Linked DNA regions of Homo sapiens: regions 2, 3, 4, 5 and 6 are each linked to region 1. The links are contacts of gene promoters, found by promoter capture Hi-C in blood cells and fetal thymus (Javierre and others, 2016). All regions are on one chromosome and are shown on one strand. The core of a region is centred on a gene start or on the middle of the fragment in contact, and the rest is flanking DNA. Distances in the headings are between cores, read along the strand shown. Region 1 holds the start of AQR (aquarius intron-binding spliceosomal factor). Region 2 holds the start of LOC105370775 (a long non-coding RNA gene). Region 3 overlaps FAM98B (family with sequence similarity 98 member B). Region 4 has its middle 46 kb from the start of LINC02694. Region 5 has its middle 25 kb from the start of FAM98B. Region 6 overlaps RASGRP1 (RAS guanyl releasing protein 1).

Region 1 (2,700 bases), core at 168-2,667:
TAACTGAGAACTTGGAACAACTCAAATGTCTATCAGCAGATGAATAGTTTATCAAACTGTGGTATATCAGTAAAATGGAACGAATGTTAAGCAATAAAAAAGGAATGAACTACTGATACATGCAACAACATGAATCCATCTCAAAATCATTTCGTTGAGTGAAAGAAGGCATGCACTGTATTATTTCATTTATATAAAATTCCATGAAAAGCAAACTATAGTGACAGAAAGCAGATCAGTGGTTGCCTGAAAAGTGGGTGGGAACAGTGAAAGGCACAGATAGCAAAAGTTCACGAGGAAACTTTTAGAGGCTTTGATATGCTCATTATGATTTTGGCAATAGTTTCACAAATGTATGTTCATGTCAAAACGCATCAAATTTTACAACCTAAATATGTGTGGGTTATTGTATGTGAATTATTTTTATTATTATTTTATTTTTATTTTTTGAGGCTAGTCTCGCTCTGTCACCAAGCTGGAGTGCAATGGCGCAATCTCGGCTCACTGCAACCTCCGCCTCCCAGCTTCAAGTGATTATTCTCCTGAATCCGAGTAGCTGGAACTACAGGCGCGCGCCACCACGCCCGGCTAAATTTTGTTTTTTAGTAGAGATGGGTTTTCACCATGTTAGCCAGGCTGGTCTCAAACTCCTGACCTCAGGCAATCGGCCAGCTTCAGCCTCCCAAAACGCTGGGATTACAGGCGTGACTACCGCGCCTGGCTGGGTTATTGTATGTCAATTTTTACCTCCATAAAACTGTTAAGGCCTGTAATCCCTGCACTTTGGGACCCTGAGGCAGGCGGATTACCTAAAGTTGGTGAGTTCGAGACCAGCCTGACCAATACGGAGAAACCCTGTGTCTACTAAAAATACAAAAATTAGCTGTGCATGGTGGCGCATGCCTGTAATCCCAACAACACGGGAGGCTGAGGCAGGAGAATCGCTTGAACCCGGGAGGCAGAGGTTGCTGTGAGCCGAGATTGCACCATTGCATTGCAGCCTGGGCAACAAGAGCGAAACTCCGTCTCAAAAAAAACAAAACTAAACTAAAACACTGTTAAGGGCAGTTAAAACCCAGCCCATATTCCCAGGCTGTTTTTTTTGTTTTGTTTTGTTTTTTCTTTAGGGTTGAAAAAAAACTAAATCCCCATTCACCGCACACGGCACTCTTCACTAACCACGAGAAACCCCACCCAACACCATCCACCGGGTCCCTCCCTTGCCCTCCTAATCCCGCCAGCGAGGTGTCTTCTCTCTGCCGCCCGCTAGAGGGCGTGTACAGAGGAGGTCAAAGCTCTTGGCTCGCTAGCTCAGCCCCAACGCCTGCATGAACTTCCGGCTACACGCCATTCCGCTTCCCGAGGAACGCTTGGGCTGTTGTACGGGTTCCCTACGGGACTCTGAAGGCTGAGGATATCCGGCCCGGAGCGTTTGTGCGGCGCGGAGTTAAGCGCCCCGGCAGTAACTTAAGGGAAGTGGACCAGGGTTGCCGCTGCCCAGAGCGGTCCTTTAGTTTCCACTGGAGTGGAGGGAAGAGTGCTGCCATGGCAGCCCCTGCGCAGCCCAAGAAGATCGTGGCCCCTACGGTGTCCCAAATCAATGCGGAGTTCGTGACCCAGGTGAGCTCGGGCGAGTCTGGTGTGTGTGAGTGGGTATGGACGTCGTGGCCCCGAGGCCTGGTGGTGGGGTTTTTTTTCAGGATTTAGGAGTCCGGAGGAGGCATTCGTTTGTTAATTGATTCACACACGTCTTTTTACTGAGTATCAGCTCCGTGCCGGCCACTATGCTAGGTGCTGGGCATACCGTGGTGAAAGAAGCTGCCCTGCCCTGGGGAGTTCATGGCCCAAGGAAGACAGACGCATGAAAATAAAACTACTGTATGAGTTTTGCTGTGTTGGAGTTTGTCTCAGGAGCAATGGATTCAGAGAGGAGGGAACACCCCAGTCTATCTGAGACTGGCAAGTAGGCTTCGCAGCAGAGTGATGCTGGACTGCCTCTTCAAGTAGGAGTAGGCTTTTTCCTGGTCCTTAGAGTGTCCTGAGTTTTTGAGCAGCGATGAGAAACTGACAAGACACCTCCAAATAGACCTATCTAAAAACAGAGTAATTCTGTAGTTTGAGAGCGTTCATTTAGAATCTGTTTACTATCTTGCATTGTGAGCCACAGTTGGCTTTGGATAGGGAACCACAGTCCTGTGGTTGTCAGCATCATTCCTCATTCTTATTATTTATTTGTGAATTGCATAAGAGTGTAAGTAGTTCAATGTAGAAGTTATCATGCCCACCTGCTTCTTTATTCTTTATTCCTTGTCTCAACAGATTTGCCAGGGCAGAAGCCTAGGGAGTGATTTTGAATCCTCCCTTTCCCTTAGTCCCTACATTTCTACATTCTAAATATCTTTTGAATCTATCTGGTGTTCTACATCTCTGTCACCCTAAGCTTGGTTGCCATTGTTTTCTGCCTGGACCAAGGTATCGTAATCTGTTATATTGTCCTTCCTCTTGCTCTGCTCTAGCCCATTCTTCATGTTGCTTTCCGAGTGATTTCATACAAGTGCAAATCTCATCATATCACTTGCCTTCTTAAAATTTCTGCCTTCCGGCCGGGCGCAGGGGCTCACGCCTGTAATCCCAGCACTTTGGGAGGCCGAGGCGGGCGGATCACGAGGTCAGGAGATCGAGACCATCCTGGCTAACACG
Region 2 (2,700 bases), core at 115-2,614, 3.7 Mb before region 1:
ACACCCCCAGTCCCCAACAAGCATACAACACATACTCACACCCCGAAGCTGCAGCCTGTTCTCTCAGGACTTCCCCTTCAAAGCTGCCTTAGTGCTCTTCGTAACCTGATTTCACTTCTAAAAAACATGCTGTAGGGGAGGAAACACCCAGAGAAATCTGTCCCAGCTCTGTATCACCACCCCTCTCACTCCAGATGGTTCTAGTTGCGAAAGTTTGCATTCTGAGCTTTCAGATACGACTGTGCTCCACATCCCCTCCACCCATAGACCTTCGGAAATACCCCACTGTCTGATCAGGGGAACCTCCCATTTGTGTACTCATGTATTCTCAAATTAGGACTATTTACTTTGTCTTGGTATCCTGCACACATTATCACTTTTTAATTCTGACCCTAAGAAGCATGTACTGTTATCCTGGTTCAACGGAGGGAAGATGGAGACTTTAGGGAGATTACTCTCTCAGTAGGAAAACAGAATTCTAACCAGGTCTGTCTCCATAATGTTGCTCGTTCTACAATTAATTTCTCCCTAAACTGAACTCTCAAAAGGAATTTTTATTTTTTCTCTTAGGAAAATGAATCGATGCCCCAAAATTATTTTTAAAGCAATACAATGACATTCTTGGTTGCATATACAAAATCGATTGCCTTCTTTTTTTTTTTACCAATATAATCCCCACTTTGATTTTTGTTTCCTACAGCCCATGTCTCAAAGATGCTGATCCCACCCTCAGATCCAGAATGGGACAAACTAGCATATGAATATCACTTTCCTCTTGGCAGTGATTGGTTCAGAAATGGCCATGTGAGCCAATTCTGGTCAATAAGACTAGAGAATAGATTTGATAATGTCTTCTGGAAGCTTCTTTCTCAGTTTTAAGAAAGAACCACAAATAGTAGTCTCTCTCTCACTGAATGTGAATAAGAAAGAAAGCAGCCACAATGACTACTGATAGCCATCCCACCGTAAGAAGAGCCAGACTTAGGATGAAGCCAACCAGCCAACCCTGGGAATGTCACAGAAGAGAATGAGAGTAATGAGACATCACTTAATGACATCACTAAGACATTGGCTCAACCAACCCTGAGGAACACCCCCCACCTCTGGACTTCCTGCCTTGTAAGCAAAGAAATGTCATATGACGTTAACTGATTTGAATTAGGTTTTCTGTTTTTCACAGCTGAAAGCATCTTTAACTGATGCTGGGATTCACCACATTTCCTGCATCTGCAGAACTAGGCAATCATCATTCACATCTTAAATTATGGTCTGGAGGTACCACACACTCCTTAATCAACAAACAAAATGCAGATTTTGCAGGCGGTGAGTTCCGTGTGGTGCCATAAAGATGGCCACACATTCTTTGTCATTGGGAGGCCATTGAGAGTTGACATAAATTTCCCCTTCTCTTGAATCTGGGCTGGCCTTGTAGTTATTTTGACCAATAGAATGCAGTAGAAGTGACACTTAGTAATTTCCAAGGCTGACCCTTAAGAGATTTTTCAGCTTTTCTATGTGACTTGCAACACTTTCTTGAAACACAGCCACCATGCAAGACATCTACCTACCCTGTGGCCACCAGTCTGTGAAGAGCCCACACTAGCCATAATAAGAGAGACAGAAAGAGGGTCAGGGTGGAATAGCACTGAGGTACCAGATGTGGTAACACCTTTTGAAATGTAGCCAAGTGAAACCAGCAGAAGCAATATAGAACTGAATGACTGCCTAGTAGAGCCCTCTCCAAATTTATGACTCACAAATAAAATGGTGGTTGTTTTAAGCCACTAAATTGTGTGGTAGTTTGTTATATAACAATAGACAACTGGAACTGGAAGAAAACATAGAAACTTCTTTTTCAAAAGCTTCAATAGCAGTAGGAAAGCAAAAGCTTTCTGTGAACGCTTGTCTAAATACAAACTTCATTATCCAGCACACTCTCCTTCAAGTGCCTCAGTTAATCCCAGTTTTAAGGATGTGTGGCCGTGTTATAAGCTGCATATACACTGCACACGAGTGTCTATAAAGATGATGCTGCTTTATCCCATTCCTTTCTGCTTTTCCCTACCACAATTAGATCTCAGGTTCTTATCAAAGTTTTTAAAAGGCCAAACACAGTGGCTCATGCCTGTAATCCCAGCGCTTTGGGAGGCCAAGACAGGCATATCGCTTGAACTCAGGAGGTCAAGACCACCCTGGGCAATGTGGTGAAACCCATCTCTACAAAAAAATACAAAAATTAGACAGTGTGGTGCACACCTGTAGTCCCAGCTACTTAGGAGGCTGAGGTGGGAGGATGGCTTGAGCCCAGGAGGTAGAGGTTGCAGTGAGCCAAGATCACACCACTGCACTCCAATCTAGACAGCAGAATGAGACTCTGTCTCAAAAAAAAAAAAAAAAAAAAGGAAAAGAAAAGAAAAAAATGTATGTGAGAGGGTGATTGATGATCAAAGGGAGCCCACTTTCTTGGTCTCATGAACATTCTCCGTCAAAACACACACATATACAACCCCTAAGTGCCAGTTCTGATTAGACTTGGGTCTTACTATGCTTGGCTTGGCAGGATTGCACTATTGTTCAAACATTTGTCCCATAAAAAATCAGCAGAATTTGAATTAACCACTAGTTTCTTTTAAGCTGAGCTGACATTTTGAGCTACATTTATTTTAACTAGGGATTTATGACAGGAAAGGAATAGTTCTA
Region 3 (2,700 bases), core at 42-2,541, 3.5 Mb before region 1:
ACAATGCCTCTCAATGAGATTTCATAGTAAACATCTTATATCCTCTTATTTGCTTTCATTTCTGCAATAAAGCAATACTCATAAACTCTTGAAGAAATTTAATTCATATTGATGTAAGTTTTTTTAACTGAAATGTCAATAATAAAAACCAACAAGAACTGATCAAATCACAAAAAATTCTGAATTTGGAAAAAAAAATCCAATCTTTAATGCCTTAGCTCATCAGATGAAGTAAAAATAAAAAGAGGAACAAATAAATGCATTTAACATACCTGACCATCTAGTAACAATCAAAATCGCAATAGTGGCTAACATTTAGAAAGTGCTAACTGTATGTTGGGTCAGTGCTAAACAATTTATATAAATTGTCTCATTTAGTTGCCACAATACCCTATAAGGTAGATACTATTATTAGCTTCATTTTACAGATGAGGAAGCTCAGGATGATAAAGGTAAATAATTCATCCGGGATGGCCATAATCATAGCTAACAACTGTCCCGGAACTGAGCCACACAACCTACCTCCATAGCCCCACACTCTTAGCCTGTATTGTTCTGTCACCATCCAGAAATGTATCTAATTGTCTTAGGCAATAGAAGTGTCTAAGTATATTCTGCTAGATAACCGAATAAGAATATGAAAGCACTTTTCTGGCTAGAACAGTACTTCTTAAACTTTTATGTGCATATGAATCTCCTGAGGGTCTTGTTAAAATAAAGATTCTAATTCAGTAGAGCTGGAATGATGTCTGGGATTCTGCATTTCTACTCCCCAGGTGATGATGACGCTGCTAGTCCACAGACCTCTCTTAAGCAGCATAGTACTTATTTTTTTACTTTCATTTAAAAAAAAAAACTCTCAATATTTATCATCACTCCTTCTCCTCTTGCAGTACATGAGAAATTACAGCAGGCATTTAAGAGTCTATTTATGCTACATTTAGCAACTGTTTAGTGTTTACCACATTTATTTCATACTGGCTTTGATTTCCAATGCCATTCTGCGTTTACAGAGAATAACCATGCTCCTAGTTTGTTCTATATATTCTTAGTTATTCATCAAAGTGCTACTGTTATTCCAAACACTGGGAACATCTCCCCTAGGCCTAGGCCCTCCCTCAAAGCCTCATACCCTGGAAGCATAGTTGCTGGTCAGACACTACTTCAAGCTGGGTGATCCAAATCTTCAGTCCATTAGGGCTGCTGGCAACTCTCCTCAACAATACAACCAGGGCCTAATTTACTTTCTATTTTCATCAGCCAAGAGATAAAACAGAAGACCCTTTCTTTTCCCATCATTTACCCAACCTATTGTCTTTGCCCCTCATCCAACTCTCTACCTCTCTCTGCTTCCTAAAAATGTCCACTATCTTTCATCTACAACACAGTGGATATTTTGCTATACTGTCCATTTCTTCTCAGAAAGATTATTCCTCTCTTGTTTTCACTCTGGATTCTCCATTTTGGACCCAAACTGAGAAGCCCAGAGCTGCTGCTAGGAGACTGGAGCCAGGGTACCCAAGGGAGCCCATCTCCGGGCGCCCACCCTTGGTACAGGCCACCTCGCTTCGCAGCCCAGGGAGGAAAGGAGAGGGGGTATGTAAACAGCTGTGGGAGTCGGGAGTCTCAGGAGTTGCAGCAAGCCCAAACCCAGGCCCCCCAGCCCAGCCCAGACCATGGGCTCACTGGTTCTTCCACCCAACCAGCCCGCACCTGTGGAATTAGATGGAGCACAGTTCCATCATCACCCAGGCACAGGGGAAGATGCCCTGGTGCTCACCAAGCAAGGCCTGGTCTCCAAGCCCTCCTTAAGAAGCCTCGTGGATATAACATCTTCAAGGCCCTTGTCTGCTATTTTCGCATCCAGCATGGCCAGTCAAGCTCTTCCACTGAGCTCATCCATATAAGGAGGAAGCCAACACCACTGCTAAGTCGGATCTGCTCCAGTGTCTCCAGTACCAGTTTTATCGGATCCCAGGGACGTGTCTGCCCCAAGGTGACAGAGGAAGATCAAAGGAGGATCTGTGTGGTCACTGACCTGGATGAAGCCCTTGTGCATCTTTAAGCCCAGCAACAATGCTAGCTTCACAGTGCCTACAGAGATTGAGGAGACCACTCAAGCAGGTTTCTGTCCTCAAAAGAGCTCACGTGGAAAGAGACGAATGAGAGAACTCTTTGAATGTGTTCCCTTCACTGCCAACCTGGCCAAGTATGCCAACCCTGTGACGGATCTGCTGGCCGGTGTGGGGTGTTCCGGGCTCACCTATTCCATGAGTCCTGTGGTTCCACCAGGGCTGCTAAGTCAGGAACCTCAGCCGCCTGGGGAGGAACCTGAGGAAAACCCTCATCCTGGACAACTTGTCTGCTTCTTACATCTTCCACCCAGAGAATGCAGTGCCTGTGCAGTCCTGGTTTGATGACATGGCAGATACTGAGTTGCTGAACCTGTTCCCAGTCTTTGAGAAGCAGAGCAGAGGACATCTATACCAGCCTTGGGTAGGGGCAGGCCTCTTAGCCTTCCCTGCTTCCAAGCAGTGGTCATCCCAGTAAGGGTCTTTCCTATGCTGTGCCTTTAGGATCACCTGACGGACAGAGTGAAAGCTGGAGGGCCTCACCACATGGGCCTGGAAATAGTGAGAAGTGATTGTAAGGAGCTTTAGGACAGCTTAGATGCCAAGTAGGCAAATGCCAGACCAACAA
Region 4 (2,700 bases), core at 50-2,549, 3.7 Mb before region 1:
GAAGATCTGACTTCAAACATGAGAAACACTAATGAAGAATTCTTCATCCTGCTCCACCCACCCCAGCACACGCCCCAATCAAACAAACCTAAACCCACACTTCAGGGGTGTGTCCCCGCCACCCCCAGCTACTTATTCAAAGATAAGTTGACTTAATTGTTGTTGTGAGAGAATGGTGAAGTGTGCTTATTCCATGTGGGGTGGGGGTTTAAAACAGTTGAGCAAGTCAGGGAGCCATGGAGCTCTTCCTAGGAAATAAAATCCTTTGTGTGTCCTATAGGAATGAGTTTTAAAATCTGGTGCTCAAAATGGAACAACAAATGGGAGCAGACACCAGTAAAGAATGGGTTAAATATAATATGATGTAACCATAAATAGATAACTGAACAGTTGCAAAAAAAAGAATGAGGAAGCTTTTTGGGCACTGACATGGAACAATTACCAAGAGATATTAAGTCACACAAAAGCGAGGTATGGCACAATGTGGATAGCCTGCTGCTGCTGTATAAAATATCTCCCCTATACACACAGATTATCTAAAATCCACAAGACAGGATAAATTTTACACTGGCTCCCAGTGCCCTAGAAGGTTTGAGCCCCAGGTCTCCTCAAGTGTAACCTTCCCAATATTGGCCTTATTGACTTTCTTCCTCTTCCTTTCCTCATTCTCCTATCAGATTAGTTGCCTTTGGGAGGGAAACTTCATGCCTGGGGAACCAGGTCAGAAAGACATTTCATGGCCTATCTTTTTGTACTCTTTGCATTTTAAAATGTAAATGTGTTGCCTATTTAGAAAATAATAATATGGTTTAAATTAGGTGGTCAAAAGCTTAATGGAGTAGCAAGCCTAATTCTGGGGGTGCAAATCTCCCACCTGCCAATGGCAAATCTGGTTAATCCAGCCAGCAACCATCCCCTAGGCAGCCTAACAGCCTAGTGGCAGCAGGTACAACCTGCAGATTATCTTCAGAGGAATGTGGCAGCCTGTGAAGCACTCTGCTTTCTGAACCTGCACCTTTCAAATAGACTCCAGGATCATGCCAGGCTGGGTCAATTTCACCAGGCTGTCAACATCCCATAGCACAAATCTTAACATATAAATGAATTGGACTTCACAGGTTCTCAACTGACAAACTTTCTGGGAAAGGATTTTGGTCAGAAAGTTCATGAGCTTCTGGGTAATTCAAAATAAAACAAAATATACTATTGATTTTTCTAACTGTAAATTTAAGACTTGTTCAATGCAGATTACTTAAAGAAAAAAAAAATACACAAGGGCCAAGAATTCTCCTCACTGAACATGTTATTGGGGTCATCGCTTCATGGCAATGTATAGAGGTTGATATGGTTTGGCTGTGTCCCCACCCAAATCTCATCTGGAATTGAAACTTCCATAATTTCCACATGTCGTGGGAGGTGATTGAATTACGGGGACGGGTGTTTCCCATGCTATTCTCGTGACAGCGAATGAGTCTCACAAGATCTGATGGTTTTAAAAAGGGGAGTTTCCCTGAACAAGCTCTCTTCTCTTGTCTGATGCCATGTGAGATGTGCCTTTCACCTTCCACCATGATTGTGAGGCTTCCCCAGCCATGTGGAACTGTAAGTCCATTATATACCTCTTTTATAAATTGCCCAGTCTCAAATCTGTCTTTATCAGCAGCATGAAAGCAGACTAATACAGAGGTCGTCTTCTTGTTGTTTATAGCTGCATAGTATTCCACTGAGTGGACCTTCCATTGCCTTATTCAACCAATTTCCAAGCTTTTGCTATTATAAACAATGCTGCAATGTATAGTCACATATAAAAGTATTTGTGTAGTTTTACAACATATTTTTGGATAGATTCCTAGAAGTTGGATTACTGGATCAAAGGGAAAATGCATATGTAATTTTACTAGATATATCAAATTCCCATTCATGAGGCTTATGCCATTTTACATTCCCACTAGCAATGTATGGAAGCATCTATTTCACCACAGCCTCACCAACAAAATATGCTGTCAATCTTTTAGATTTTTGTCAGCCTGACAGGAGAGAATATTGTATCTCAATGAAGTTTGAAAGTGTATTCACTGAAAGTATGGTTGAGAGTCTTTTCATATATGCAGGATCCATTTTCCTTTCTTTTTCTGTGAACTCTCTGCTCATATTTCCAACCCATTTTTCATAGATGTGTTGGCTTTTTTCTTCTATATTTTTTGAAGCTCTTTACATATTATGGTTATTAACTCTTTGTGCTATAAGTTGCAAATGTTTCTTCCCAGTTTCTATAGCCTTTCAAAATACATATATTGTTAACCTCAGATGAAGAAACTAAAGGATAAAAGATTTAAGGATGCTTCCCAAGGCCATGAAATAAAAGCTACACACATTTCATTGATAACAAATTGTAGGTGCACAGTAGTTAATGACAAGAGGTCCCTCTGCAGACTCTGTCTGGATAGCAGTACATTTAGACTCAGAGCTCCAGAGTCCAGATCTACTGGATAATCTCAGGAATGTCAACTCTATGTGTGAGGCCGCTATTTCCATTTTTCTGAAAAACCAAGCAGAGCACCCTGTTTCCATTTTTATGGAGCTCATTTGTTCAATACCTTCATTTGTTCTGGAAACCCTCCATGTATATAGTGGAAGTCAGGCAAGGTCTCTCTGAGCGGGTGATATTTGAACTAAGACCTAAGACAAGCCGGCCATTGT
Region 5 (2,700 bases), core at 34-2,533, 3.5 Mb before region 1:
AAAAGGAGATAAGCCATCCCCACTGTATCCTTTCTGAATTCTTGACCCAAAGAATCCACGAGGTTGGTGAAATAGTTATTTGAAGTTGGCAAATAGGTTTGTTAAGCAGCACAGATAACATGAACTTAATGGTATAGAAATAAGCTTCTAAAGAGAAGAAATTCAAACAGATAAGTTTACATTGGGCTACAAGCAGTCACTATCTTGATCTGTCATATTTCCATTTCCATCTTATCTTTAAATTTTTTTTTTGAGATAAGGTCTTGCTCTACCACCCAGGCTGTGTGTGTGTGCATACATATTCAATGGCGGAGAGCAGGGTGCATTTCACAGTACCTACCATGCCATGCTTTAATGTAGAAGAATTACCATTCAAACCCACATCATGGCTCACTGCAGCCTCAACGTCCCAGGCTCATGTGATCCTCCCACCTCAGCCTCCTGATTAGTTGGGAGTACAGGCACACACACCACATCTGGCTAATTTTTGTATGTTTTTGTAGAAATGAGGTCTCACCATGTTGCTCAGGCTGGTCTTGAACTCATGGGCCCGAGTGATCTTCCTGCCTCAGCCTCCCAAAGTGTTGGGATTACAGACATGATCCACTGTGCCCAGCCTCCATTTTACCTTTAATACCTATTTTTTCCACATTCCTATTTATATTAGTTTTGTGTTGAAAATTAATTATGTAGAGTCAGAACTCTTTCAGGACTAATGCAATGTTTGTTTTTGTGTGATGCTAGATATTAAAAGGAGGATGTCCCTGGTGACACAATGTCAAAATTATTCTGATCCATTTGGAACATTTCCAGTGAAAATGAACAGGCGCTGCTTAAGGAAGTCAAGGACACAGGAAAAAAATATGATCAGAAAACATCCTCTAGGGACTAATTTAGGGTAAAAGCAATATATAGCAGCTCATTTCTCCTCTTTCCCTGTTAAAGCTTAATTAGCCAAAGACCACTGGGCACAATGTATAATCTGACAAAATCAGATGTATTGATTTTCAGTGAGGGAGCACATGGCAGAAGCACTGTGGCAGACCACTCAACAAGAAGGAGCAGGAAACGTCTTCTGTACAGTGTGTGTTTCACTGAAGGATTTTGAGCAGGATCCAGGAACTGAACATCGGTTCTGGATTGGAGGCTGCTTCTGAAGTAGGATTAGGAAAGTGGGGATTAACTAGGGATTAGGATTGCCACGGGGTGTCCCCTGTAATACATGGATGTAGCAGAATAGTTCCAGGGACATCATCAATAAGAAAGCAGTGGTCACTCATAGAGCAGGTCTCTATGGTATTGGAAAGAGATGCTCTCTGTTCTCTGGGATCTCCCATTGTAAGGACTTGAACTTGGAGTTATTCCATCATCGCGTGGAAAGAATTTGCCTGAGAATTAAATCAACATGGATTAAAGCAGAGCTGGGGCACACTGGAACCCCTCAATCTAGCTCTGCCTAAAAAATCCATCTCTTGAATTGCCCATCACAGAGGCTAATACGCTCCTGTTTTTTAAAGCTACTTTGTTCAAGCTACTTTTAGGAGTTACTCTTGACTAATACAAGCCTGATAACGTTTTCTGAGGTTAAGATGCTCTCACCTGAACTCCAAAGATAAGCTTGTGTGTGTGTGTGTGTGTGTGTGTGTGTGTTTGTATGTGTGTGTGTGTGTGTGTGTGCATACATATTCAATGGGGGAGAGCAGGGTGCATTTCACAGTACCTACTATGCCATGCTTTGATGTAGAAGAATTACCATTCAAACCCCCATACTCTTGACATTTATATGAGGTTATATTTCTAAGTAACTAATAAATAACATCTAATATTCAATAAATTGACTTCTGTTTGTTGAATGCATATTTTGTACAAGGTGCTGAACTATATACCCTGAGGGGAAAATAAATAATAATCCAATATCATCCTGTTTTCAAAGCTATAGTTACTAGTTATAGTCAAGGCCAAAAGTAACATAGGCAGTCAGTCTTAATAGCACCTCAGAGGCAGGAGAGGCCATTACAGACCAGCAGCAGTGGAGAAAACTCTTCCACCAAGGCACAGGAAGGGAGTGGGGCTTTGACTGAAGAGTAAAATTTCAACCTGGGTGAGAAAGAAGACATTCCAGAAAGGGGTTAAGGTAAGGAAGTTGAAAACAATTATGGAAAGAGTAACCAGGACAGCTCGGGCCAGGAGAAGACCTCCAAAAGGGAGAGGAATGGAATATAAGTTTGGAAATGTAGATTGAGACCAGTCTTGAAACACCAGACCTCCAGATTTCTATTTTATCTGGTAGGAACTAAAGTGCCAATGCAGATTTCTGATTAGAGGAATATCAAGACAAAAAGAGGTTTTTAGTCAGGCATGGTGGCTTGTGGTTGTAATTCCAGCTACTCAGGTACTCAGGAGGCTGAGGTGGGAGGATTGCTTGAGGCCAGAAGTTTGTGACCAGCCTGGGTTATATAGCTAGAGCCAGTCTCAAAAGAGATGAAGAGAGAGAGAGACGAGAGAGAGAGATTTTCAGGAAAATATATTTGGCAATTCAATGTTTCTGACTGGAGAAGAGAATGGAGAATGCTGGATCCTGCTGCTATTCTTTACACAAAAGGTGACAGAAGTGTGAGTGAGCCTCTCAGCCAAAGGCAGGATGCAGCTAACCTCACCCCTACCTCTACATCCCATACCACCACCTGCTGGAGTAATTCA
Region 6 (2,700 bases), core at 81-2,580, 3.6 Mb before region 1:
GATCAATACAAGCTTGTCAATAAGTTATTGCTGGCAAAAAAGAAGCCTTCAGTTTTGTTTCTGAGATTGTCATTTCCTTAAAACCACAGCGCTTGGACTGGTCGCTTTGTAACTCAGAGCCTCCGTTTCTCGCTGTGATACCATTAAAATGATTTCTGAGACTTAAAGTGTCTGGAAGAAGGTGTAATGGGGTATCTCCATCACGATATTAAACTTGAAGAAAGTCCTTCAGGAATTTGCATATTTTAAGAATGTGCTTTTGGATATATTTGAAGAGTCAATATTCTTAGGATGGAGTCTTAGAAACCCAACAAATTTTTAACTCAGTCTTTAAAAATTATTAATTTAGACTGTTTCTTGTTCTTACATAGACTTTGTGGTAAGATATACATAAGATCAACCACTAGCATAGACTTTTAAAATATTATTTTAGTAATAGCTAACTTTTGAGCATTTACTATGAATAACACAGTGTTTATGTTAATATTTTACATATGTAGTCTCATTTAGTTCCCACTATTTTATAAGTTCTTGTATTTGCAAAGATCTAACTGTCCCTCAGCATTTATACTTACTTTATAAATGTTAATAACTTTTAAAATTATTCATGTTCACCATAGAGAACGTAGAAAATACAGACTGGCAAAAAGAAAAAAATTACCGTCACTCATTTTACCATCAAGAGCAAGATAAGCACTATCAACTTTCATGGGTGTGCCTTTCTTGATTCTCTTCTATGGATATTTACATGTATTATAATCACAGTAACTTTTTGGTGATAAACTCACTATAACTTTTTGCTTCCCATAATTTATATCTTAAACAATTTTGATCTTGAAATCAATATTATTATTTATAAAGAGGTATGCTAGCACACAAGGTTGCTCTTCTATTTTAAAATTGATTTTTTAAAAATAATTCTGCTTAGTCCCTTCAAATATAGGACATAAAAGTGAAGGTTGCTTGGCAACTGAAATGATGGTAATGAGGAATTAAAGACATTACAAGAAAAGAAGAGTACTCAGTTCTTTTCAATGCTACATGCTAATTGCAGTAACTATGGCTGATTACAGTTGTAATAAATGAAGGAAACACAAAACTTCCATTAAAAATTCTTGATGTGAACTTTTTTTTATTTTGTATTACAGTGAAAGTGAGATGGGGTTTGCTGAAGAGAAACTTTACTTTCAGAAACAAGAAAAGATCTTTTGTCTGTATTAACTTTTTTTTCTTTTCTTTTCTTTTTTTTTTTTTTTTTGGCGACAGAGTCTCACCCAGGCTGGAGTATGGTGGCATGATCTGGGCTCACTGCAACCTCCACCTCCTGGGTTCAAGTGATTCTCGTGCCTCAGCCACCCGAGTAGCTGGGTGTGCACCACCAGAGCCAGCTAATTTTTCTATTTTTAGTAGAGATGGGGTTTCACCATGTTGCCCAGGCTGGCCTTGAACTCCTGAGCTCAAGAGATCCACCTGCCTCGTCCTCTCAAAGTGCTGGGATTACAGGCATGAGCCACTGTGCCCAGCCTATTAACCTTCTAAGGGAATATTAAGTTAGCAACTGGGTGAGATACGTAGCAGAAGCACAAAGATTTGGTACATCTGTGATTCTTCAGCAGCACAGAAGAGATGGTGGGCAGTGGTGTGAAGGAAGCCATGTTAACTACTTGTTTTTTTTTCCCCAAAGAGTAGTCAAGGGCCCTGGAGAGATTGCTGAGGTTCTCACTAGAGCCTTCAAGCAGAAGATGCTTCCTAGGATGGAGATGTACTTAGAAGGACACCAGTGATTCATTGAAATGGACAAAGGGAGTAGAGACTAGAGGGGGAAGAGGGAAGCAGAGGGGAAGAGGGAAGCAGGGATTGCCGGTTTTGTAACAAAGAATGCAGTCACCAGAAAAGTAAGGCAGTTTGGGATGAAGCCATCCAAGAACTTATCAAAGGTATATCTTTGCCAGAAAGTGAGGATTTCTAGTTGGAGGAGCAAATGGAGCTATGTCTGTCTCCTCTTCACTGATCTATCTGAATCATGGTATAGGACTTGGTTTTGTAATCTTGTGAACAGCCTCATTTTAAGGGGGAACCCACAATATTCAGGAAGCCAAGAAATGTCCCTGTTAATCATCTATGAGTCTATCTTGCTGGAATGTAGTTATAGACTATGGAACATCCTTAAATCTGATGAGCAATTAATCACTGGTTAATTTTGGATTCACTTATTAAATGCCAAATGCATAGGGGATTTTTCACACTCTCTGCCCTTCCTCCTTCCCAGTTCATGAGCACCACAATTGGATTCCATATTTACTTCATCCAAACCTACCTTGGTGGGTTCACCATTTACCTCCAGTCCTGGGGAGTTCAGTCCAGACTGTGAATTACTGCCATTTCTGAGGGGCTGCTTCCCAGATGGGAGCCATAGGACCCTCGCCTCTGGCCCTGGACTCAGTCTTCGTTTATTGCCAAGGATGAGCACTTGCTCTCGGGAATGGATGCTGGGGTCCACCTGACTGTTTGGCTTGCTTTAATCCCTAAAGGAAAAGCTCCCTACATTTATTGTGTCTGTGGTCCCCCCACCCTCTCTGTCCCAGTGCCTAAGAGTCTCATTACCTTGTCAGTAACTACCAGTGTCTACCTGAGATGGACTAAGCTTCATTTAACTGAGAAAGTGCACCCTCAAAATTGCAAGGAGAAATGTTGGAGGAG

What was found. The method cuts DNA at HindIII sites, captures the fragments that hold promoters and counts their contacts. A CHiCAGO score of 5 or more calls a contact.
Region 2: a fragment that was not itself captured here is called in contact with the fragment with the promoter of AQR in region 1 in 2 of 17 cell types (naive B cells and total B cells); the score reaches 7.2 in naive B cells.
Region 3: a contact is called between a fragment that was not itself captured here and the fragment with the promoter of AQR in region 1, in 5 of 17 cell types (non-activated CD4 T cells, total CD4 T cells, activated CD4 T cells and 2 more). The highest score is 8.7, in non-activated CD4 T cells.
Region 4: a contact is called between a fragment that was not itself captured here and the fragment with the promoter of AQR in region 1, in 1 of 17 cell types (total B cells). The highest score is 5.9, in total B cells.
Region 5: a contact is called between a fragment that was not itself captured here and the fragment with the promoter of AQR in region 1, in 1 of 17 cell types (total B cells). The highest score is 6.0, in total B cells.
Region 6: a contact is called between a fragment that was not itself captured here and the fragment with the promoter of AQR in region 1, in 1 of 17 cell types (non-activated CD4 T cells). The highest score is 5.3, in non-activated CD4 T cells.

The regions. Positions count from the first base shown.
Region 1 is chr15:34,968,459-34,971,158 of GRCh38, reverse strand. AQR (aquarius intron-binding spliceosomal factor) reads left to right here and starts at 1,417. Exons shown (of 35, transcript NM_014691.3): 1 at 1,417-1,620. The coding sequence starts at 1,546. RefSeq lists enhancers at 1,314-1,423, 1,474-1,623. The HindIII fragment of the contact is 5,969 bases long and covers 1-2,442 here.
Region 2 is chr15:38,669,280-38,671,979 of GRCh38, reverse strand. LOC105370775 (a long non-coding RNA gene) reads right to left here and starts at 85. Exons shown (of 2, transcript XR_007064584.1): 1 at 40-85. RefSeq lists enhancers at 241-360, 1,494-1,563. The HindIII fragment of the contact is 1,001 bases long and covers 864-1,864 here.
Region 3 is chr15:38,458,566-38,461,265 of GRCh38, reverse strand. The region is part of intron 1 of FAM98B (family with sequence similarity 98 member B); the gene reads right to left. It also overlaps the pseudogene LOC100422645. Among named protein-coding and RNA genes, the nearest start is that of FAM98B, 5.8 kb to the right of the region's middle. The HindIII fragment of the contact is 9,186 bases long and covers 1-2,700 here.
Region 4 is chr15:38,648,802-38,651,501 of GRCh38, reverse strand. No RefSeq gene overlaps it. Among named protein-coding and RNA genes, the nearest start is that of LINC02694, 46 kb to the left of the region's middle. The HindIII fragment of the contact is 935 bases long and covers 832-1,766 here.
Region 5 is chr15:38,427,552-38,430,251 of GRCh38, reverse strand. No RefSeq gene overlaps it. Among named protein-coding and RNA genes, the nearest start is that of FAM98B, 25 kb to the left of the region's middle. The HindIII fragment of the contact is 672 bases long and covers 948-1,619 here.
Region 6 is chr15:38,548,801-38,551,500 of GRCh38, reverse strand. All of the region lies in intron 2 of RASGRP1 (RAS guanyl releasing protein 1), which reads left to right. Among named protein-coding and RNA genes, the nearest start is that of RASGRP1, 15 kb to the left of the region's middle. The HindIII fragment of the contact is 2,632 bases long and covers 15-2,646 here.